6 separate regions of the Homo sapiens genome follow, and all the other regions are linked to region 1. Evidence: promoter capture Hi-C in 16 types of primary human blood cells and fetal thymus (Javierre and others, 2016). All regions are on one chromosome and are shown on one strand. The core of a region is centred on a gene start or on the middle of the fragment in contact, and the rest is flanking DNA. Distances in the headings are between cores, read along the strand shown. Region 1 holds the start of GADD45G (growth arrest and DNA damage inducible gamma). Region 2 has its middle 30 kb from the start of SYK. Region 3 overlaps SYK (spleen associated tyrosine kinase). Region 4 has its middle 57 kb from the start of DIRAS2. Region 5 overlaps SYK (spleen associated tyrosine kinase). Region 6 has its middle 13 kb from the start of SYK.

What was found. Contacts are between HindIII fragments. The CHiCAGO score rates a contact against its expected background, and 5 or more counts as called.
Region 2: a fragment that was not itself captured here is called in contact with the fragment with the promoter of GADD45G in region 1 in 8 of 17 cell types (neutrophils, total B cells, naive B cells and 5 more); the score reaches 12.4 in neutrophils.
Region 3: a contact is called between a fragment that was not itself captured here and the fragment with the promoter of GADD45G in region 1, in 7 of 17 cell types (monocytes, megakaryocytes, fetal thymus and 4 more). The highest score is 10.8, in monocytes.
Region 4: a contact is called between a fragment that was not itself captured here and the fragment with the promoter of GADD45G in region 1, in 1 of 17 cell types (monocytes). The highest score is 7.0, in monocytes.
Region 5: a contact is called between a fragment that was not itself captured here and the fragment with the promoter of GADD45G in region 1, in 1 of 17 cell types (endothelial precursors). The highest score is 8.3, in endothelial precursors.
Region 6: a contact is called between a fragment that was not itself captured here and the fragment with the promoter of GADD45G in region 1, in 1 of 17 cell types (neutrophils). The highest score is 9.4, in neutrophils.

What each region holds. Positions count from the first base shown.
Region 1 is chr9:89,603,226-89,606,876 of GRCh38, reverse strand. It overlaps GADD45G (growth arrest and DNA damage inducible gamma), which reads right to left and starts at 1,865. Exons shown (of 4, transcript NM_006705.4): 1 at 1,703-1,865; 2 at 1,344-1,445; 3 at 997-1,210; 4 at 322-908. The coding sequence starts at 1,755. The coding sequence ends at 798. It overlaps LOC105376139 (a long non-coding RNA gene), which reads left to right and starts at 1,861. Exons shown (of 2, transcript XR_930105.3): 1 at 1,861-3,651. RefSeq lists a silencer at 2,496-2,545 and an enhancer at 2,156-3,054. The HindIII fragment of the contact is 4,421 bases long and covers 357-3,651 here.
Region 2 is chr9:90,769,251-90,773,387 of GRCh38, reverse strand. No RefSeq gene overlaps it. Among named protein-coding and RNA genes, the nearest start is that of SYK, 30 kb to the left of the region's middle. The HindIII fragment of the contact is 6,012 bases long and covers 1-4,137 here.
Region 3 is chr9:90,827,466-90,831,647 of GRCh38, reverse strand. The region is part of intron 1 of SYK (spleen associated tyrosine kinase); the gene reads right to left. Among named protein-coding and RNA genes, the nearest start is that of SYK, 28 kb to the right of the region's middle. RefSeq lists an enhancer at 646-715. The HindIII fragment of the contact is 8,521 bases long and covers 1-4,182 here.
Region 4 is chr9:90,697,661-90,701,720 of GRCh38, reverse strand. No RefSeq gene overlaps it. Among named protein-coding and RNA genes, the nearest start is that of DIRAS2, 57 kb to the right of the region's middle. The HindIII fragment of the contact is 955 bases long and covers 2,117-3,071 here.
Region 5 is chr9:90,895,673-90,899,567 of GRCh38, reverse strand. It overlaps SYK (spleen associated tyrosine kinase), which reads right to left. Exons shown (of 14, transcript NM_003177.7): 14 at 1,019-3,895. Among named protein-coding and RNA genes, the nearest start is that of SYK, 96 kb to the right of the region's middle. The HindIII fragment of the contact is 1,955 bases long and covers 1,510-3,464 here.
Region 6 is chr9:90,787,031-90,790,886 of GRCh38, reverse strand. No RefSeq gene overlaps it. Among named protein-coding and RNA genes, the nearest start is that of SYK, 13 kb to the left of the region's middle. The HindIII fragment of the contact is 4,892 bases long and covers 1-3,856 here.

The DNA of each region.
Region 1 (3,651 bases), core at 616-3,115:
GGAGGGGGAGGGGAGGCACAGGTCACTGTTATCGCCTTGGAAGGCAAGACTTCAGCTGCTGCACTGTCTTATCTCAAGTATGCTCCTGTTTTGCAAGTTTAAAATCTTCCTAAAAGGAGAAAAGTAGGAGCCAGGCTCAAGTTCTACCCTAGCACTGGGCAGCATGCCCTCCCTCTGCCAGAGGGGAGGAGCCTGTCATTCTTGCCCGACAGGAAGACGGAACAGGTGCCATCAGTTCCACGGAGTTCCAGCAATCCTCTGAAACCCTGCACGCCACCTCCCCCGACACAAAGATCCCCTACCCTCAATAAAGAGCATAAGTTTGTTTCAAAAAGTTTATTGTAAAATTCAAAGCTTCAACAGCAGCATCCTTTAGAAAACGAAGCATTGCCCGGATCCGTTTTGAAAAAGCAGCGCAGTCGGCTAAGTCCTTCACGCTCCTGCAACTGTACCAAGTCCAGGGCGCCGCTCCTTCCTGCCGAGCGCAGGCTGCTGAGTCACGCCTGCCCGGCCAGTCTGTCCTTCCTGGCCCTGAGGCCAACGTCCTAGCCTAGGCCTTCCTGGGCGAGCAGCCGCTCCAGACACTTGCAGAGTCCTCAGCTCGGACCAGCCTGGCCCTGCCGCCACCGGGCCCCTCCTCGGGAGGCCGCGCCTCCTCGCTCTCCAGGCGCCCCCCCCGCCTGCCAGTCTCCACGCCGCACTCGGGCACCCTCGGAGGGCCCCTCCACAGAGCCAGCCGCGCTCTAGGCGCCCCGGGGCGTCACCACGTCGATCAGACCAAGGTCCCCGCCGGGCTGTCACTCGGGGAGGGTGATGCTGGGCACCCAGTCGTTAACGCTGCGGCTCTCCTCGCAAAACAGGCTGAGCTTCTCCAAGGCGGGATCCTTCCAGGCGTCCTCGTTGGGGTTCTGCGGAGAGAGAGCAGGGTCAGCCTGGCTGGCCGCGGGCCGAGGCGGGAACGACACTGGGGCGGGGACAGGACGGGACTGTACTCACCGAAATGAGGATGCAGTGCAGGTCGCCCGGCGCACCCGCCTCCTCGCCGGCGCCCACGATAGCCGCCAGCCGCTGCACATCGCCCACGCGCACTATGTCGATGTCGTTCTCGCAGCAGAAAGCCTGGATCAGCGTAAAATGGATCTGCAGCGCGATGTCGCCCTCGTCCTCCTCACCCGCAGCCAGCACACAGAAGGTCACATTGTCGGGGTCCCTGCGAGGGCAAGGCGGGGACCTAGGTCAGAACCGGCTAGCCGAGTTCTCCCGCCGCCACCCCTCCCATCCGCCAGTCTCCTCGCCATTCACCCCCGCCCCTGTCTCCCAGCCTGGGCCGCGTCTACACTTACACGTTCAAGACTTTGGCTGACTCGTAGACGCCGGCAGTGAGGCAGCCCTGACGCTGCGCCGACAGCAGCAACTCATGCAGCGCTTTCCCGGCACCCTGCATCCTGCGGAGGAGCCAGCGCAGTGAGCGGGAGCCGGCCGGAGGGCGCGGCGGAGACCCCAGCCCCGGCCACCGGCACACACCCTTGGCTCCCCAACTCCAACCACACTCCAATCCCGGCTCAGCGCCTGCACCCCGGCTCTCCAACCGGGATCTGGCGCCCGGACCCCCGCGCTCCCCTCCTACCCCGCGGATTCCCACCCTGGAAAACCCTGACGGTCGCCGACCGACCAGCGGCTTTCTCAGCGCCCTGAAACCCACCTGGCTGTGCTTTCCGGAACTGTGTCCTGGCCGCGGACTTCTTCCAGAGTCATAGTGCGATCAACCAGCAGCTAGTTATCCACAAGCGGAGAGCGCGGAGGGGACGCGGGCGAACACACTGACAGCCAGAGCTCAGCACGGCGCGCCCACCACCAGCGAGTGCGCCCCTACTACGCTGCGCGCCCTTATATAGGCTGGTGGGTGCGGCGCCGCCAGCTGGCGCGAGGCTGCGCGCCTATTGGCCGGCACCCGCTTTCTGATGTAAATGAGGCGGCGAGCCAGCGGCTCGTGCCAGAAGGCCACGTGGGGAGGGGTGCGGGGGATGACAATGCCTCAAATCTGCCGCTTTTGTTGGGGTGTTACCAGGCAGACTGGAGCCTGCAGATTTCATCTCGCCTGGCTTTTTTTTTTTTTTGAAGTCCTTAAAAGGAAAAAGTAAAAAAAAAAAAAAAAGAAAAAACCCAACCCACAAAAACCTTGTTTGCTTATATGATGCTGCAATTTGCGAAAAGCACCTTTATAGAAGCAAAGGGATTTTTTTTTGCATTTTGTATTGCTACCTTTCTATTTGTTTCTTTTCTTTAATTTGAAGTCTATGAGACTGTTGCATTGGAGCCAGAAATTAAGGTAAAAACAGGTAGCGCCAGTTAGAGGCTTGCAAAAGGCAGTGGGCACAGCCCCCTGCAGCTGACCACTAGCGTCCCGAGCGCGCTGGTGATGCCTGCCAGGCATACTCAATGTGTACATTGAGCCGTCTCTGGAAGATCCCACCCCACCTCCCCGCCCTTGGCCGAGCGCGGCGGGGCGCGGGAGACGGGGGCGGGCGGGGACGAGCAGATTGCGGCCGGCGCACGCCGCTCGTTTGCATTTCTATGGAGGGCGCACAATAGCAGAGGTCTGGCGTGTGGCGGTTTGCTGTAGGGACAATCGAGGCTTTCTCTTCATAGCAACACTGTCCACCTGCCGCCGGGTGGGGTGGGCAGGACCCCGCCGCGCGTGGGGGTCGCCGGGCTGCCTGGCGCGTGGGGTCGAGGCTGAGTGCCACTCCGTGGTCCCTGAGTGCACGCCCCCAGTACTGGCCCTGCTACAAGTAATTCCCTTCCATCCGTTCCTCGCACGGGTGCCGAACAGCCGCGCGAGTTGGGAAGGACGGAGAGCTGCTGTGCAGTCTTCGCGGCTGGACGCCCTGTGGCCGGGACCCCGCGGCTGCAGCCCCTGGAGCTTAGGTAATGCAGCTCGGAATCTTTCCCGGGGCGCCATCTGCAGGCAGGTTAAAAAGATCCTGAACCCCTTTTGTCCTCCCCTCCCCCCAACACACACACCCTTGCATTGGCCTGGCGCGGGGGAAGGGCGGTGGAGAGGGACGGCCACGGAGCTGCCCGGCCGGGCCCAGTGAGCCCTGTCCAAGCTGCGCATAAATAGAACCCGAGTAAGGGCTGCAAAACGCATTCAGGTGGGACTGCAGTTACCCTGGGGAGTAGAGGGCAAAAGGAAATTCCCATCCAGTACTGATGGAGTAAGAGCCCCTACGTCTTATACCATGTTGAAATATCTTAATTACTTAAATGCGCATATGTAAAAAGCCTTTTTTCCGGCAATGGAATAAGTCTGGAAGAGATCTTGGGAGAGTTTAATAGGCTAGAGGTTGCTGCCGTTTGACCATACACGCTGGCACTTTCAGAGGATTCACCCACTGAGCACCTTCTGTGCTACGTGAAAAGGCGCGCTGGGGGACACCTCATTGCTTCCTTTTTTTGGGTGAAGCCTTGGAGACTGGCCAGGACAGTGGCGGGCCGGGTGGATTGGATGGAAACCCGGGCCCTGCCGCAAGACTGGGGCGATAATGGGAAAGTAAACAACGCCGTGGCTTTGTTCCTTTCATTCAGGCTTTCTTCAGGTGGGTGGTGAATGTACAAGGTACTTCTGAATTTGTTATGGGGAAGTTTCCA
Region 2 (4,137 bases), core at 231-2,730, 1.2 Mb before region 1:
AATGTCTCAAAAATTACCAGTCAAACGGATTTGTGAGTGTCACAGGTTGTTTTTAAGATCTTTATAATTATTATTTTTAGACTTGGTATCTTTTATATCCATACACTGCTAGGATTCAGATCTGAAAGTCAGATTGCCCTAATAAACTAGTAGGGGCTCCTTGGGTGACAAAGCCACTCTGACAGTGACTTCATTGGCTGTTCATTGGCCACATACCCTCGCCTGGTTCTCTGAAGAGACATCACATCGCAGGATGTGATGAACACTAGTTTTTATTTTCTTAGCAATATTTCATTAATTCTTGGTGTGTCGTAGTGAATAAATTACTGTCAACATCTTTTGAGCACCCAACATGCCAGAGCATTTCTAAACAAAGGCAATTGACAAAAGATGTAGAATACAAATGTTTGAGCGCTTAAGGGCTGGGTGCTTTTTAAGTGCTTTATCTGTATGACTGTGTTATGTCCTCACAACAGCCCTACAGGTATTATCATCATCCCCGTTTTACAGATGGGAAAACTCACCCAGAGGTGCTACGGAACTTGCGCAAGATCACAGAGCTATGAGAGCAGAGCAGGGAAGCAGCCCCGGATGGGCGGATTTCAAAGTCTGCACTCTCCATTCCTACTCCTTCCTGCTTCTCAGTGTCAGCAAGAGCAAATCTCATGAGCTCTAGAGCATCCTGGCAACCTTCTGGGAGGGATGCTCTTTACCTTGATCTATCTATGTTGGGTTCCAGAATCTTCTCCCTAAATGTAAATGTAACAGGAACTGTTGGTGACTCACTCACACCCCTCTGGCCTGGGGGGTTCTATCTGAGTTGCAACTTCTTCTTTGCCTGAGGACATTCTCCTAAGCCTCAGGAGGCCTCTCTGCCCATGTCCAGGGTGGTTTGAGTGCTAGGGAATTAATAGCCCTGGCAGCCCTCCACCAATGACTGACAGGCCGGTGTCTGAATGTCCCAGCTCCCTCATCCTTCAGGAAGAAGCACAGATTTTTCTGCAGTTTCCTTGTGCTCCAGCGGCTCACAAATGCGCTGCCTTCCCTTCCTGGTCTCACCTTCCCCTCCTGGTCCCATGTCCCTGCTCCCTTGCTGGGGTACCTTGCACCTGCCAAATAAATTCTTTCTACTGGGATCTCAAATCTGCGTCTGCTTCTGAAAAAGCCAAGGTAGAAGGGATGAAAGTGTCCACATTTAACAGTAACTTGGGACTTCCTGAAGATATCCAAGGATTTTTTGGGAAAGACTGAATTTACATTCTGAAATGAGAGCTGGCATCAGTTAAATGAACATACTAATTAAAAAGCTCCCCTTGGCAGGGAGCTGGTTCTTCCTTCTTGTCATGATGGTTAGGGGAGTGGGGTCTGGGTCGCCTCTTCTCGTGACCTAAGTGCTTTGTGATCACTTACATGGCTTGCCCACTTCCCTCTTCAGTGCCTGGTTCTGGATCCTGGTAGCACCTTCATCTGTGCTTGTGGCCAGGAATGGGCATTGCTGCTACAGCCATGGCCCCACCCTGCACACATGGATCTACCTTCTCTTCTTTGTGGCCCACCTTCCTGGCTCAGGGACGCTGCTTCTGCTTGAATTCCAAATGGAAAATGGATGCTCCCCTTGGAGACTGCTTTTCTGTGTAGCAGAGAGCACATTGTTTATACTAACAGTAAATCCATGGATTCTGTCTTCTAATAACAGGTTGGTTATTTACAATGTGCCAGGCATTATTAGAAGTGCTTTGCTTATATTAATTAGATTGTCATAAAACTCTGTGAAGTATGTGCTATTATTTTCTTCATTTTACAGATAAACTGAGGGACAGAGAATTCAAACAACTTGGCCCAAGCTATACATTGAGTAAATGGTACTATCTTGTGTCAGATCCAGATTTGTAATGGAGGAAACCAAAATATTTCACCTCCAAATATCCTTCTTTGACATATTTTGAGGTGGCTGTTCAGAGGGCCTGCAAACAGAGGTAGCCTTGCAAAGCTGTCCTTTGCGGGGAGATTTGCATCTGTACAGAATCAGCATGGTGCAGCCAGGTTTTCTCTGAGGCTAACCCTTGTCCAGATCAAGAAAAGATTAACAGAGTCTGACACCTTAAATTTCTGAAATAAACATTTACCATCTATTCTCTCTGAGGACTGCTACCTGTAAGGTTTCACCTGTATAATAAGACCACATTTGCAAGCCAGACCTCCTCTTCTCTTCCTCCCATAACCTGCCTTGACATCATAACCTGATTTACCACCGCAACCAGTTTTTGGCCGTACTCCAAGCCCACATTTTTTCTGTAACCTTAAGCTGTGTATAGGCTGGATGTGGTGACTCCTGCCTATAATCCCAGCACTTTGGGAGGCCAAGGCAGGAGGATCACTTGAGGCCAGGAGTTCAAGTTCAAGGCAACATAGCGAGACCCCCATCTCTACAAAAAGTGAAAAGAATTAGCCAGCCATGGTGGCACAGGCCTACAGTTCCAGCTACTCAGGAGGCTGAGGCGGGATTGCTTGAAGGACTGCTTGAGCCCAGGAGTTTGAGGCTACAGTAACCATGATCCTGCCATTGCACTACAGCCTGGGCAAGAGAGTGAGACCCTATATCAAAAGCCTTTAAAAAGATAGTGTAAAAGTCTCAACCTCCTTACCATTTCTTGGAGATCTTTGTAAGATTCCTGTGCACATTAATAAATATGTGTGCCTTTTCTCCAATTAATCTGTCTCTTGTCAGTTGATTTTCAGTGACCCTTCCAAGGGCAAAGAGGAAGTTTCCCCTTGGCACCCACAGGAACAACTGCCCCTCACTACCTTCTGCTTCACAGTTTCAAATGACTGGCCACTCACCAAAAGGCAGAAGAGGTTCATGAGTTCCTCTTTTTCTCATTTGCACTTGACCTCTTTCTCATAACACACATCCAGCCATGTCTTCTACATATTTTTTTCCCCAGTAAAACATCTGTGACTCATAGTTGTAAAAAATCAAATGAAATAGTAAAAATGTTTTAAAAGTACATCTCAGGGCTGCTTCCCTTAGAGGCTGCTGCTGCGCAACACTAAAGGACATACATGAAGGTGTGAGAGAGCAGCGTGACATGTGTCCCATGGTCCCCATGGTTTATACACTTGGTTTTCCAGAAAGCATCTCTGGTCAGCACAGATGCAGAATTTCTGGTTCAGTGCAGTTGGCTGAGCACTTGTGCTTAATGCCCCACCCACAAGAGACCCCATTGAAAACGATTTTGAAAGAGGGAACAAAATGTCACTGCAGACACCACTGGAGGTGAGGTGGCAGGTGGGATTTCACTTCGGGCCAGATTGAAGACTGGTTGAAACAGGGAAGAGGCATGCCTACCAGCACCATGATGGTTTACGACTGCCGTGCCAACACCTGGAAGTTACCACTTCTGTTCTAGAAATTTCTGAGTAACCCACCCCTTAATTTGCATGTAATTAAAAGTATGTATAAATATAACTGGAGAACTGCCTCTGAACTGCTACTCAAACACACGGCCTTTGAGGTATCCTGGTTCTGCAGAGGCAGTCACAGAGCTGTAACACTGTTGCCCCAATAAAAGCCATTTTTTTCTACCACCAGCTCATTCTTGAAACCTTTCCTGAGTGAAGCCAACAATTTTCCCAGGCTAAGCCCCAGTTTTGGGACTGGCCTGCCCTGCATCAAGTGGCATTCCTAGCTGCTCTCACAGAAGGCCTATGCCCTCCCTGGAGCCTCCTCAGTGCCGCCGTTCTGAGGAGGGTCCTGCCAGTTCTCTAACAAAGGATTCCATCCCAAGGTCATCAGGCACCTCTCCCCCTTATCCAGCTAGCTCCAGCCTATACTTCTTACTGCTCAAAAGAGTAAGCCCAACCAATACCTCCAGAAGTGGACCCCATATCAGCCCCTAAAAGTCAAACCTGTGTCCCTTGCAAGAAGTAGCTGATGAAAATTGGGGAGCACTTAGAGTACATGTGCTATTTTCTATGTCTGATTTGGCTGTATTTAACAAAAAAAATTTGGCTAGTTTTCAGAGGATCCAGAAAAGTTTATAGAGGAGTTTTTTAAGTTGACCATGTTCTTTAATTTAACTTGTCATGACTTGCAAGTATTATCATTTACTTGCTGTGCTATGGAAGAAATGCAGT
Region 3 (4,182 bases), core at 15-2,514, 1.2 Mb before region 1:
AGATTTAAATGAATAGATGAATGCGGAGATATGGAATCCATGAATCATGAGGACTGATAATAAGTAATTTCCCTTCCGTCTCCCCAACCTTCCCTGAAAAGACCCAACCTCATCCATAAAGATATATAAATTTACCTTGGATGTTTTGGGAAAATAGTTATCTCTATGTAAGACTGTGTTCTTAAATATATTACTCCTATCTCATAAATCTGTGTTCATTTCAGGATTTTCTAGCTTGGCATTGAACCAGAAGAGGTAGCCTATGTCTCTGTATCCCTTTTTATTAACCCATCTGTCCTAGTTATCAAGGGGCCTCAGCCCTGAGATTCCAGGCTTCTGCTTTTCTTGAGACCCACTGAAGCATGGCTCCGGCAGGTGCTGCCTCCTCCCCTCCAGCCCCCTCAACTTCCTGTAGTTCACATTTCCAGCAGTCCTTAGCGATTGAAGGTGTCTCACTTTCACATCCCTGGGCCATTAGAGCCCTCCTATCATACAGAGACAGTGGGGGAAATAAGTGGTTCTCTGGGAAAAGATCACCTGCAAACAATTGTTGCCAAATCCATACCATTTAAGGGAACAAAAATCAGCATAGTGCAGAAAGATATCCAGGCTTATCACGCTCAAACCACACAGCCCCCTCAATGCAAAGCAGCCCTGTTAAGATGTGCCTAGGAATTTCCTCTGCAGCTTGAAGCTGAGAAAATTGTCAAGACTTGGGTGAAAGGAAACTTCATCTGTGGGTTAATTTTCATAAGAAAGAGGAGGCCGGGTGTGGTGGCTCACGCTTGTAATCCCAGCACTTTGGGAGGCTGAGGCGGGTGGATCACAAGGTCAGGAGATTGAGACCATCCTGGCTAACAGGGTGAAACCCCGTCTCTACTAAAAATACAAAAAATTAGCCAGGCGTGGTGGTGGGCGCCTGTAGTCCCAGCTACTTGGGAGGCTGAGGCAGGAGAATGGCATGAACCTGGGAGGCGGAGTTTGCAGTGAGCAGAAATCATGCCACTGCACTCCAGCCTGGGCGACAGAGCGAGACTCCATCTCAAAAAAAAAAAAAAAAAAAAAAGAGGAATGAGTCCAACCAGAGGGAGAATTGATCTTGCTGGTTTGGTCAGGGACTGGCTGATTAATTACAGAGAAATGACCAAGGAAGAGGTGATGTGATGGGACCACCCCACCCAGCACCAGGCTCTGCAAACAAGCATGTTTGACTCATCTGCAAAGGGCTGGGGGCACTGCCTTGTGCGGCAGAATCCCACTGTACAAAAGAAAACATGTGGACACAGACCTGTGGCCTCAACACTGAGGAACAGAACCCCAGCTGCAGGGCCTGAGTTGGCCTTGCATCCACTCCACTGGCTTCGTCAGTAGGTATCACTTGCCCTCCACGGCGCCATCCTGAGGCCTGCCTGTGCATCACACTGCACAGGGTGCCTGGTCTCCAAGGCACAGCCTTACATTGTGCACATTCTGCTGAGCGGTTGACTCTCCCATATTTGCAGGCATACATGGGGGACTTCTTAGTATATAGAGATACACAATTCAGAAACACAAAGTGAAGCTAAGGATGGTAGCATGAGGCATGATTTTTACTAATGTTTAGAAATAGAGGGATATTGAAATACTTGAAAACATTATCCAAACCTTCAACACCAAATTCTCTTGCTGTGCCTTCAGAACTTAAAAGATTGAAAGTGCATCAAGTAAAGGCTGATCTATCTCAACCAACACATAGACATTTTCAAGCTCTGCAAAAGACACTCAGAAATCTCTTCTCTATGCCCACCTTGCCATAATTAACACAGAAAACAGATATTACGCTTTGGTGTTAACATTATGTTAATATAAATGTTAACTGTGTAGTTATAAATAAACAACCAGCCCATCTGGTGCATTTAATTTACAATCTAACTGATTGATTCATTCAATATGCTTGTTGAGCATCTATCACGTGCAAGTCATTATGTCAGGCACCATGTGAGAGAAAAATGAACCTCCTGCCTCCCTGACAACAGGTAGGCAGAAATGGCTCACGAAAGTAAGAGAATAAGGATCTGGTCCGAGAGTTCCACTTTCATCCTGGGGACTGCGTGATTTCCAGGTTCTCTACTATCCTCACGTCTTCTTGCCTCTAAGTGGGACTGGCCAAAGCCACCTGCAGATTCTAGTTCTTGGCAGGACTCTGGCTCATGAAAGCTCACATGTCCGGTTCTTCCTGAGTGTGGTCTTCAGGGCACCCCACCCTCAGGCTCCCTTCTGGAAAGCAGGGTTCTGGGCCCACCTCAGACCCAGCAAATAGGGCATACGGACAAGAAGGGTAAATTTTAAACAGCTTCCTAGGTGATTTTTTTTTTTTTTTGAGACGGAGTCTTATTCTGTCACCCCAGCTGGAGTGCAATGGCACGATCTCCACTCACTGCAACGTCTGCCTCCTGGGTTCAAGCAATTCTCCTGCCTCAGCCTCCTGAGTAGCTGGGACTACAGCGCACACCACCACACCCAGCTAATTTTTTGTATTTTTAGTAGAGACAGGGTTTCACTATGTTGGCCAGGCTGGTGTCAAACTCCTGACCTCATGATCCGCCCACCTCGGCATCCCAAAGTGTTGGGATTACAGGCGTGAGCCTCTGCGCCTGGCCTGCTTCCCAGGTGATTTTTAAGCACTCTAATGTCTGAGAACCTCTGCTATAATCTAATATTGCCCTATTCAAGTGCTACAGTGTGACAGGGAGGCAAGTTGACCACGTTCAGTGTGAGCGAAAGCAAGTTGCCACTTGCCACGGGTGGGGAAGGGAGCCAGGGAGGACAGTCAAGTCACCGTGCTGTGCTGGTGACCGGGCCAGGCTGCAGGCTCAACCTGGGAGACATCTCTGCAGTTCTTCTCCACCAGGAAGAAGTACATGCCTCATCATACAGGTGTGCTCAGAGAAGGGGGAAGGGACGCACACGCAACGCACACACAATTGGTAATTAAAAAGAGAGCTAGCTTTTGTGAATAATTAACAGAACACTGGGTTGCAACCAAAATTGCCACTTAGCAATGTCCCTTGCATGCTCTTTTGAGCAGAAGAGGACAGGGTGGGGTTGCAGCCAGCGGTGTGGGGCGCATATTGACCCTGAGTGGGGCCAAGGATGTCTCCCCAGTGAACTGCACCATCTACCATGTCCCAGGGCCACCTCATCACTCACTCTTCTCTGGGGAAAAACACAAACAACCAACAAGATGCTAGAAAAAAGAACTCACGTTGAATATGCCTGATAGATCTTACTATATTGCTTTTATCTGGGCAAACCACATATGGATGATGAGAAGGGCAGCGCAGTTGCAGGCTTTCCTTGATCCTGCCCTGGTACCCATCCCAAGATCCTTTCCTACTCAGCTGTGAAGGCCTGGGCGGGGCGGGGGGGGGGGCGGGGGTGAGGCCACAGCAGACTGCAATGACAACAGCCGGCAGACCTAACATCTCTTGTCTGTGCCTTAGTGCCTTGCTGAAGTTTCCCGCTTTCAGGCTCTATTTTACTTTTCCATCACTACCTTATGAGCATAATCTTTATGGGGATCCTGCAGCTGCTAGAGAAACCAAAACACCTGACTTAAGCAAAAAGGACACAGTAAATGTGGATTAAGAAATATCTAGAGTTTTACTGAATGTCTATTTAAAAAAAATCGCTAGCATTCTTTTTCCTAGCCAGTTAAAAAATAATTGTGGGTGACTCAGGACTGCAAGATATTACAGGAGCTTATGATGGTCTCCTGAGATTTTATAATTGTCTTTCATAAACCTGAGACATAAATATACTCAATGCTTAAAGCAAAGTGGCATAGGTTATAGGAAGGAGAGAAGGATGCTTTAGCTGCATCATAACTGCAGGCAAGACAAGATGGCAAACCGCTAAACCTTCCAGCTCAAGATGGACATGTGCTCAGTGGAAGAATGTTAGCGGCAGAGGAGAGGAAACGCAGATGCAGGCATGAAACCTAAGTATCCCTCCTACAGACACCCACAGATGCGCAGAGCCTGAGGTTAGGGTTTCTAAATATGCTTGATTCCCACAAATTTGACCTACCTCCCTTTCCTGGATTCAAACGCAGATCTGGAATCCCAGGCGCTGGGCAGTATAGAATGTGGGAAGGGAAGAAGCACACAAATCTGAGAGGAGTATCTTAAAAGGAAAACAGCT
Region 4 (4,060 bases), core at 1,345-3,844, 1.1 Mb before region 1:
CTCCTATTTAAAATTGCAAGCTTCTCCCTAAACACCTTCTTGTGGATTCCTGCTGCACTTTCCCATCACCATAATCACCCTCCAATATACTCCATAATTTACCTTTCCTCTTACTGTTGTCTTCCCACACAAGAATACAAGCTCCTGTTCTGTATCATTCCAAAAGTTAAGCCAAGTTCTAAATTAGTGCCTATTACCTAGTGAATTCTTATTAAATATCATGAATTAATCTCTCAAGTTTTATTGATCTACCATCTTTTCTGTGCAGATGGTGTATTTTAATATTTTGGATCTACTACTGCCAGAAGAGGCAGTTGGCTGTGCTGGTTGATTTTTGCCAAGAGGGTAACTGTGCTGCAAATATTCTAACACAAAAGTGACCACTTCCAGTAAACATTCTCATCAGTGCACTGTTTATCAACATGCTGTATTACCTCTCAATCAAAAAGAAAGTCCTGCATCTACTTTCCTCTTCCAGCTACTACCTTATAGCTCCAATCTTCTTTAAAAGCAGAATTCTCAAAACCCTGCCCATTCCCACCATCTCCACTCTCTTGCCTCTATTCACTGATCAGAAGGTTTAATGTGGCTTTTCCCCACTGCCGTGGAACCGGCCTTCCCCGGGTCCATAGTTCAGCTCCCAGCCCTCGGCTCCCTGTCTGCAGCACCCTGTCTTCTTCTCTACCTGACCTCTCCATGGTGAAGCTCCTCAGAGCCGGAGTTTGATCTTCTCTGTTCTCTATTCTGTGGTAATCTTCATGAATTCAAATACCACCCTTATGTTAATGACTCTAAAATTGTATCTGTAGCTCTGAGCTCTCCACTGGAAGCCACACTAGCATACAGTACAAACAAGCTTTACACCTCCATTGGGTTTTTGCAGATAGCTCATTTCTAACTCTTCAACACAGAACCCTTGAGTTTCACCCCCAAATGCCCTTGTCTCATACTGAGATGAGGAATCTCAGCAAAGGGCACCACCATGCTCTCAGTTTTCAAGCCAAACACCTGGTGTTACTGCTTATCCCTAACAGGTGAATAAGGACCCTCAAGTGCATTTCCCATAGAAGATTGAATCAGCTGCCTCTTCTGGCTCTAGGGCCCCTAGCTGAGCCCGCATCAGGAGCACCTGTGCTAAGCTCCAGCCCGCTCATTAGTGGCCACATTCCACACTTGCTACTCTTCAATCCAAGCGCCACCAAGCTGCAAGAAAGCTTCTTTTCAAGTACAATTCAGGTGATATCCTGCTTGAAACACTCCGGAGCGCCGGAAGGCTGAGGCAGGAGAACGGCGTGAACCCGGGAGGCGGAGCTTGCAGTGAGTCAAGATCGCGCTACTGCACTCCAGCCTGGGCGACAGAGCGAGACCCCGTCTCAAAAACAAACAAATAAAACAAACAAGCAAAACAACCCACTCCTGAGTGCTTCTCAGCAAACATGGAATAAACTTCACTTTTCATTATGATCTCTGAGGCTCTCCCTCCCCAGAGCCTCTGTGCTACCTTCCTCCCAGATCATCATTCTCCAGATTCAATGTTGGCTCGTAGCTCCTTGACCATCATACGCTCTTTGCCAGCTCAGGGACCTCACACATGCTCCTCCGTCTGTGTGGATCTCTCTGCATCACCAGCTTCTTCGATAGCTTTCCATCTCAGTTTCAATGTCCTGTCTATCTTTGGAGTGCCCTTTTCCTGACCACCTCAGCACACCACTCACTGTGGAGACTTTCTACATCAGTCCTGCATTGTTTCTTTCTAACACATACCATAACTTGCAATTATTCCATTTGTTTACTGGTATTTTATTGTCGGTCTTCACCTCTGGAACACAAATGCATGTAAGCCTGGAAAGGCTGAGGCAGAGTCTCTGTTCCTTGCTGAATCCCCAGCCCCAAGAACAGTGCCTGATGTGGACAAGGCACTCACTAGATAGCTGTTAAATGGATAACGTTCCAAGAAACCTTCACTGTCAGAAAATGTAATCAGAGCTCTACATTGAGTTTCACATTTTATAAGTTGTCAGAAATACTTTCATTTAATTTAAATCTTTTAAGAGATGGCTGCAGCAGAAAAGCAGCAATTATAATAACACTTTCAACCCAGAAGGGACACCAAGCTTTTAGATAGTGAGAAACGAGAATAATTTAAAGTTGGAAAGGAAAAAATAAAAGTGTGCGTGTGTGTGTGTGTGTGTGTGCGCGCGGCGGGGATGGGGGCAGCAAAACAATCAGTGAGTTGAGTTCAGTTATTTGTGAAAGGATTTACAATAATTCTATTCGCAACTATCATGACCTCCTACCCTAGCCATGATTTCGGACGTTCCACAATGACATAGATCGTGTTTTGTGAAACTTATATGAACACAGAGGTTAAAGTATGTCATGTAAAAGAGATACATTTATATATCTCTGGTATTTTCCTATGACGGAATGCTTTTCAACCTTAAAAAGGGATGAAATTCTGATCCATTACAAAACAGATGGGCCCCGAGGCCATTATGCTAAGTGAAATAAACCAGTCATGAAAGGGCAAATATTATGAGATTCCACTTATATGAGGTGGCTAGAGTAGTCAAATTCTTAGAGACAGAAAGTAGGATGATGGCTGCCAGGGACTGAGGGGTGGAGAATAGGGAGTTAGTGTAGTTAGTGTTTAATGAGCACAGAGTTTCAGTTTTGCAAGAGGAAGAAGTTGAGGAAATGGATGGTAGTGATAATTGCACAACACTATGAATGTTCTTAATACTCAGTGGTACACTAAAAATAGTTGAGTCGGTAAATGTTATATTATGTGAGTTTCACTGCAGTGAAAGAAAGCACCCCCTTCCCACAAACTTCTTACTACATTCTTTACTTGGTACCCTCATTCTCTCTTATCTCTCTCATTAATTTTACATTTTCTTACTGCATTGTATACAGTCATTTGACTCCGCTTGAATCTTTTCTGGAACTAAATATAGAATGCATATCTTTTTAAAAAGTTGCACTGAACTGACGTCAGATGTGATGGAGTAGAAAGGACAAATGCCACCTTTATGGATGAAAATTAGCCACTGATTCCACAAAGAGAAGCTTTTACACTTGGGACTTATGTTGGTGACAAAGGATATTTTGCAAAAGTTCTCTCTCTTTTTAACCTTTAAGTTCAGGGGTACAAGTACAGGTTTGTTACATAGGTAAACTTGTGTCATGGGAGTTTGTTATACAGATTACATTTTATCAACCAGGTATTAAGCCTAGTACCCATTAGTTATTTTTCCTGATCTTCTCCCTCCGTCCACCCTCCACCATCCACCCTCCAGCCTCCACCTTTTGAAAGGCCCCAGTATGTGTTGTTCCCCTCTATGTGTCCATATGTTCTCGTCATTTAGTTCTTTCTACAAAATGATGAATATAGAGTCCTACCATGTGAACCAGAAACTGTTGAAGCTGATGACCTCAGAACCAGTTTGAGGGTTGCAGTCTTGGAAAGCCAATGATTACAACTGTCATCATTGTCAGCTGTCATCTGCTGTCAGCTCCTAAGGGGCGAGGGACCTCAATAAATGCTTGTAGACTGATAAATAGGACTTCCTCTTAATGGCATGCATGATGATTTTGTGATATAGGTGATTAGAGAAAAGATGGTAAGCAATTAATACAGTTGATGGCAACCGGAATTATGTTCCCCTCTTAAGCAACGGTGTGTGGGCAGGCTCTGGTACAAAGAGAGGAACTTTGAGAAAGAGGGTGCAGGCTGCTGTGCTGATGATGCTCAGGGAGCACACAGAGCAGCCCTCCATGGGATGCCCAGCCAGACATGCTCCTCGACAGGGTCCCCAGCCCTTCCTCTCTGCTCTTGGGACCACGCCCCATCCAGTAGCAGAAAGCTCAACTGTTGCTCCCAATGTCAACATGGCCCCCATGCATGTGCTGCAAATCCCTTAGAATTTGGCATCTTTATACCAGTGTGTGCTCCACAATGACACTGTTCTCTCTCTTCTGGCTTTGCATTACCAAAACAGCAACAACAACGATAAAAATCCTTTGTATAGTGTTGCTTGAACATATTTACGCATGAAGT
Region 5 (3,895 bases), core at 1,238-3,737, 1.3 Mb before region 1:
GCATGTGGGTACAGGTGTATGTACATGCATGCACATGTGTGCACATGTGTGAATGCATGTGTACATTTGTGCATGTGCTTATGTGTGTGGATGCATGTGTTCATGTAAATGCATGCATTTGTGCCCATGCACATGTGTATGTACATGTGTGCATATACATGTATGCACTGACATATATGCATGTGTGCATATGTACACGTGTGCATGCCTTCTGTGCATGTGTGAATGCATGTGTGCATGTGGATGTATATGTGTGCATGTCTGCGCATGTGTGTAACCTCCTTAGAACAGGCAGAAATTGGGGCTCTGGAATCCTTTCTTTGCCTACCGCAGTTCCTTTTAGGCTGTCTTCATAGAGAAAGGGATAGCTCAAAACCCACAGCCCTGCTTTGGCCTGATGGGGGATTTCTGGGTCTCCTCAGTCTGTCTTTTATTAGGCAGGCCATGGGCTGTCAGGCCCTGGCTGGGTAGATGCTCTGCTCATGAATAAAAGATAGAGGCAGGGCAGGACAGGGCCCTCCCTGATGGGCCTCCCCGCCGTTCTGTGTGGTGGAATCTCACAGTCAACTTTGACCTGTGCACATCCACTTTTTTTTTTGAGATAGGATCTTGCTCTGTCACCCAGCTGGGAGTGCAGTGGTGCCATCACAGCTCATTTCAGCCTCGACCTCCCAGGCTCAAGCAATCTTCCTGCCCCAGCCTCCCAAGTAGCTGGGACTACAGGTGCATACCACCACACCCGGCTAATGTTTTGATTTCTGCAGAGCTAAAGTCTTACTATGTTGTCCAGGCTGGTCTCAAACTCTGGGCTCAAGAGATCCTCCTGCCTTGGGCTCCCAAACTGCTGGGATTACAGGCATGAGCCACTGCACCCGGCCAACACATTCACTTTTTTGGGACATGGCAGGGACTTAATGTTTTAGAAAACATTTAGCTACCCCTTTGACAATGCTGCTTGACACTATTTGACAGTGTGACTTACCACATCCTAATAACTTCCATGAAAATCATCACAAAGCAAATTTTAAATTTTTATTAAAAATCACAGTTTTTAAAAATGTCCAGTGACACAATGTAGCTCTTCTGAAATGAATGGAAAACACAACACACTGCTAACCAGTGGAGGGAGCTCTCTGCAGGGCTGGGAGACCTGACAATGCAGCTGTAGCCTCTGCAAGTGAAAATCCAGGCCGACTTGCAGTCATTGGACTGATGTCCAAGTGCAATCACCATACAGCAGCTACAGGCAGGGCTGGCTGATAGGGAGTATGGGAGAAGGACACGCTCAGATGAAAACATGCATGCAACGATTTTCACCACTGAACACACTGTTTTCTGTGATAGAAACTGTCGGCCCTGCTGGGGGACAAGATATTCACGGCCTCACTAGCCAGTGTGATGCCACCAGGGCAGCCTGCCCCTGATGCTCCTTTGTTACCTGCTAAAGAAGGACCATAAGGTAAAAGGCACCTTACCTTATGGAGTGAGCCCAGACCCCAGGGAAAAGCTTGGGTAGAACAATCCAAGGGGCAGCCTGGGTATGAGAATCCAGCCCAAGCTAGCTGCTCTAGAAGCCTGGAGGCCTTTCCCAGCTTCCCAAATGTAGCCCTTTTCACATGACCAATCCTTCAATTAGGTTACCTTTCTCTATTTGCCCTCCTTGGTGGCTACAGGGGAAAGGATAATTATTCCTGACCACAAGACACATTTTCACTAGAAAAGACTTCCTCGTGCTGGCCACAGTGGGAATTCTGCACACAGGTGCCTGCTCCACCAAGCAGAGAGGCTCAGGAGATTGTCCAGGGACAAGGAGACCTGGCCGGACCTCTGCAGGGAGGTGAGGCCCCTGCCCCCATCTTGTCCCATCACATTCTGGATGTTTGGCATCCCCAGGCTCCTGGGAGGGGAGAAGTGCTGATAAAAAGGCCAAAAATCACACAGAAAGAAGACAGAAAACTCCACGCACTTCCTACATAGGTGCTACCGTATTCCTACGAGCACGGGGCCTGTGTTGAAGACTCCCTCTGGAAGTTACAGAAGGAAGCCACCAAGAGTTCAGCCTCACAGCCTCTTTCTCAGATGCAGTCACCACTTTACCAAACTTGGCACATCCAACCACTCCTTTCATAATTTTACACCTGTTTGTGGCCTGGCTGACAGATATTTTGTCATTGATCTTTCTAATTTCAGGGATTCTAAATGTGTTTTGAGAATCTGCTCAGCACTCAGGGATTCTGTCTTTAAAAATATGATTAAACCACCAGATAGTGTGATTTCAGAAAGTGTGCGTGGCTACCAAAAACTTCTAAACACAAGTTATATGAGTGACTCCTGTCTTCTGTGGCTGAGCTTGGGTACTGATTGTCTTTCTCCATGCCTTGCATCCCCTGTTAGAGGAGGGCCTGCTGTCCATGGCTGTCCATGCACTTTAAAATGTCTCAGGTTTAGCTGAAGACCAGATGGGTCCAAGTTTATTTATATCTGCTGGCATAAGAATGATGGCTAAATTACCTCTTTAAGTTGTTTTTTTGTTTGTTTGTTTTGACAGAGTCTCGCTGTGATGCCCAAGCTGGAGTGCAGTGGCATGATCTTGGCTCACTGCGACCTCCGTTTCCTGGGTTCAAGCGATTCTCCTGCCTCAGCCTCCCGAGTAGCTGGGACTACAGACACATGCCACCATGCCCGGCTAATTTTTGTATTTTTAGTAGAGATGGGGTTTTACCATATTGGCCAGGCTAGTCTCAAACTCCTTACCTCAAGTGATCCACCCGCCTCGGCCTCCTAAAGTGCTGAGATGTCTCTTTAACTTTCAAGAGGTACAGCAAAACTGAAATCAATGGGTGATGACTTCTTAAAGATCAAACATGAAGATGAGGATTAGTTAAGACCAGAAAATCATTCTCCGATCTTGTATCTTCAACTCAAATTCACACTCCAAAAGGCCTGTTTGTGGTGAGGCTCAGGGTCTTTGGCTTGTTCTGAATTAATACTTTCTTTGGAAACTCTTTAGATGGCTTTGATCCCTGTGCTGCCCCCCATTGCAGACACAGAAAGCGACAGGGGATTCTGGCGGCACCCTCTCTGTGGAGGAGAGGAAGGTGTGGACCACGTTCAGAGGAAGGCAGCCTGAAGCTGTCCTCAGTGAGATGCTGGGGGATGGGCCTCTTGCCCCTGCTGTGCAGCCTCCATGCAGGGCTTTATTTACCAGTCACCAGGTCTTCAAGACAGTCTGCAGGAGAGAGGATTTCAGGGGGAAAGTAAGCCAAGCCAATTCATTCTCATGGTCCCCTTTTATCACAAACATGTAAGTCTTCCATCTCATAACAGAGACAGCAAAAGCAGTATCCAGGCCTTTTTTTTTTTTCTTTCTTTCTTTCCTTAACTGGCTACATGCTTAGAAACTGCACTGGTCAAACTTGATTTTCTTTTTAAAGCCTCAAAACATTTTTATTGTCAGGAAAGCTTTTCAGTGGCCAGGGATCAGTCTCATGGCCGTAGAAGCAGCCAAATTCCTCTGCCTTTGCCTTCCCTTCAGGAGTCACATGCTAAGGCATCCTTGGGCATTTGGAAAAGGCCGCTTGGGGTGAGAGTGCTCTAGGCCACTCTGCAATGTCCCTGGGCCCGATGAGTAACAAATGCACCCCGGGACCCAGAGAAGTGGAAAGACATGAAAGGGATTTGGAAACAGATCGTAAAAATAACCTGTATGAAAATCACACAGACAAGAAAACAAACAAATCCAGCTAGCCCCTTGGATCCTGCCATCCGTCTTTTCTCCCGGGACTGCCTTTGCTTTGTGGAGGGTGAGTCCTGGGACAGGCTTTGGGTGACAAGTTGTGGGCATGTTCCATCCAAGCCTGGCTCTCCCGACTGGCAGAGGGAGGTGGCTGACAAT
Region 6 (3,856 bases), core at 942-3,441, 1.2 Mb before region 1:
AATATTTATAATAACTCCTTTGAAGTCTGCTAAATGCACCATCTGAGTCCTTATAAAGGCAGTTTCCATTGCCTGTTTTTTTATGTCCCAGTGATATGTTCCTGATTCTATGAGTGTCTCACTATTTTGTTGTTGAAAACTCAACATTTTAGGCTGGGCATGGTAGCTCATGCCTGTAATCCCAGCACTTTGGGAGGCCGAGGTGGGCAGATCACTTGTGGTCAGGAGTTCAAGACCAGCCTTGCCAAAATGGTGAAACCCTGTCTCTACTAAAGATACAAAAAAATTAGCCAGGTGTGGTGGCACACATCTGTAGTCCCAGCTACGTGGGAGGCTGAGGCGGGGGAATTGCTTGAACCCAGGAGGCAGAGGTTGCAGTGAGCCTAGATCACACCACTGCCCTCCAGCTTGGGCAACAGAGCGAGACTCTGTCTCAAAAGAAAAAAAAAAGAAAAGAAAAGAAAAGCCAACATTTTTGATAATATATTATAGCACGTCTGTTACTGATTGCCCTCTGAGGGTTTGTTGTTGCTTGCTTTAGCATGTGTTTAGGGTCTTGGCTGGACTCCAGTGAAATCTATTTCCCTGACAATGTGCAGCCTATGATGTTGCTCTTCCGTGAGTGCCATCTTGGGTGTGGAAACTGTCTCTCTGACCATCAGGATGACTGTGGTCTGAGTGGGGATCGCTTTGGCTCTCTCTGTCTCTAATCTCCTTGTTGAGCTTATGTCCGGTTTGTTATTGGTGTCACAACAGATCTTAGCCTGTTCTAGTGGCCTGCTGATTTCTCTGTTGTTCTCAACAATGCCCTAAGGTATAAATTCCTCCAGTCAAATCCCATTAAAGTCAGTGCTGTTTGCAGGACAGCTGTTACCAGTCTTTGAGGCTTGCTCCCACATCGGGAGACCTCCGAACTGCCTCTTTTCCTCTGTTAGTGTTCCAGCTGGTCTATGTTTCTCTTGTTGCTCCTGGCATCATTGTTGCTCCTGGCATCTATGTTTTACTTGTTGCTCCTTTTAATTGTTAAGGACCTTCTTGTTTTTGAGAATACTTAGCTGGGACTTTGTCCTCTATTTCAAATAAAGTCGGCCCCCTTAGGGTGAGCTAGGGAGCTCTCTGCTCTTACAACCTGCCTTTCCACTGGGAAGAAACTCTGCTCTCTTGCACCGGACCTGGGAGTGGAGACAGTGGCCTGGTTCTCCTGGGCTGATACCCTGACTCTACTAGCAGGGCACTGGGTGGGGTCAGTAGCCTTCTATGAGTGGAACTTCTGCCTTATAAGGGTGCTAGGGAAGTGGCAATTAGAGTCCCTGGGGTAAAGCATCCACTCTACGAGTGGGGGCTTGGTGGGGGAAGGGAGCCCCAGTTCTCTTGATGCAGTTTCCTGGGATGGAGCTTCTGCAACCGGGAGATGGGTGTCCTGGGATGCAGTTTCTGCAACCAGAAGATGGGGGTGAGGGGATGGGAGAGGCCCAAGGCCTGCCCCTGCTGGGGTAAAACTGGAGCTGTAGACTGGAGCTGGGGGAGAGCACACCCATCTTCTTGGCAGCCTCCACCCAGAGTAGAGCTTGTGTTATGCTGAACACCGGGGAGGAGATGAGAGCAGGTCATGGCTCAGATGATGCGGGCTCTTGTGTTCTTACTGATATTTTATCATTTTTCTCAAATAAATAGTTTTCTACTTGCTGTGTGTCTTTAGGACAATTCCCAGAGATTTTTACGTGTTTTATTTTTTATAATTTTTGCCACTCAAAGAATTGTTTCATTGGAGAGAGTTTCGACGAAACTATCCACTCTTTCATTCAAGAACTGTTTCTCTTCTTTTTTCCTGAGGCACTGAAGTTAAAGGGTTTTTATTGATGGGGTTGGGGTGGGGAAAGCAGTGTGTGCCTCTCTGGGCAGGCAGGACAGGGCATGGAAAATACCAGGTGGAACACTTTGGCCAACCAGATTCCAAGGACCTGAGGAACATGGGCCAGGATATAGGCCTCCTACTGTCAGATTTTCTTGGGGCTGAAGTATTAGTAGCAACCTCCTCATTCCTGACCCAGACAAATAATCTTTGTGCCCTCCTTGGAGCCTATGCTGAAGATTACAGATGCCTATCCCAGACAGCAGAAAATTAATCTTACACAACCGACACTGTGTGACAAATAACTAGTCTTTTTCTTTCAGTTTGACAGTACTCAAATGGATTTGCTTATTGAAGTTCATACATGGTATGATGAGTGACCCACAGGGGAAATTTAGCTAAATATAAAAGAAAAATGAGAAAAATTATAACATTATTTTGGAGAGTCTTCTAATATAAAATATTAAATGAATGGATGTTAAATTCTGTTACATATTACTACACTGGGATTTTCTTTCAGTTTGACGGTACTCAAATGGATTTGCTTATTGAAGTTCATACATGGTATGATGAGTGACCCACAGGGCAAATTTAGCTAAATATAAAAGAAAAATGAGAAAAATTATAACATTATTTTGGAGAGTCTTCTAATATAAAATATTAAATGAATGGATGTTAAATTCTGTTACATATTACTACACTGGGAATCATCATCTATTTTAAGTGTACTCGGAAAAAACTGCCTAGAAACAAGGAACAGAGATTATATTTTCTGACTCAAATATGTTTCAGTATGAATAGGCATTTCCTGCTTGTCCATACACATCTGTTTTATTGAAAAATGTTTGAAAGAGTTGATTGATTTCAATTTCCAAGTTTGATCTAGGGTCGAGGTTGCTACCGTGAAACTAAATTCAAAATGACAAGATTATTAAGTTATGTATATTTTGTTATTATTAACCCAGGTAGCTGTAAAACTTGATTGCCAAGTAGATATGGAAGAGATGATTGATTGACCATAATTGTCCACAGTTTTGAACTCTTGGCTACACTTTCACCTCTGGGTCTGTGAGTCCTCAAGATGCAGCTCACTCCTCTCCAAACGGGGTGCTCTGTGATTTGTGTCAAAGACAAAATAGATCTCAAGGAAACTCTGGGGGCTTTGAGGCCAGGTAGGGATAAATGAGTGCAGAATTTGTAAGTAGAACAGACTTGATAAAGAACCCTCTGATGTTTCAAAAATAATATATAATAGAAAAATTAATAAAGGGGGTAAAATATAAGACACCCCAAATCCCAATCTTAGAGGCAAATATGCTCCAACTTTTGTTAATATTTTAGTATCTGTCTCTACATACAGAAATGTAAGTGTAAATGTTGTTACATATGTGATTTAGTAAGCTGACTATTGGATTAGATAGCATGTTGTGGAAATACTTCCATACTGTCTTCTTATTGACTATATATCATTCTCTTGAATGCATGAACCATGAGGTTATTAACCAACCCCTGACTGATACACAGTTGTTTCCAGGGTTTTGTTATTATGACCTACTATACAGGGAACACTCCTGTTTATACATCTTTGATCCTTGATAAATCTCTCTAAGAGATAAATTCCTAGGAGAAATGTTGAGAGTCAGAGGAGATGCTGTTTTATTTGTGACATTTGTTGCTAAATTGCACTTAGGAAAGATTCAATTCTGGTTTATACTTCCACCTGGTACAGGCTGTGCTCAGCACAGGGGTGCTCTCTGAGTCTGGTGGGGCTGAAACCTAGACCACCCTCTGTTTGACCAGCAGGGAGCTGCATCTGCCCCAAGGAAGGGGTGCCTGTCCCTTCATCATACACAGTTTCTATAGGAACAGGCAAGCTCCTGGTGTCAGGCTGTGAGGGCAGGCATTTCTGCTACCTAGAGCCATTAGTTCTAGGCATTATTAATGTTTTCATTCTGGGGTAAAAGAGATCTCATTTTTGTTTTACCTCTCATCCTAGAGGTAAAA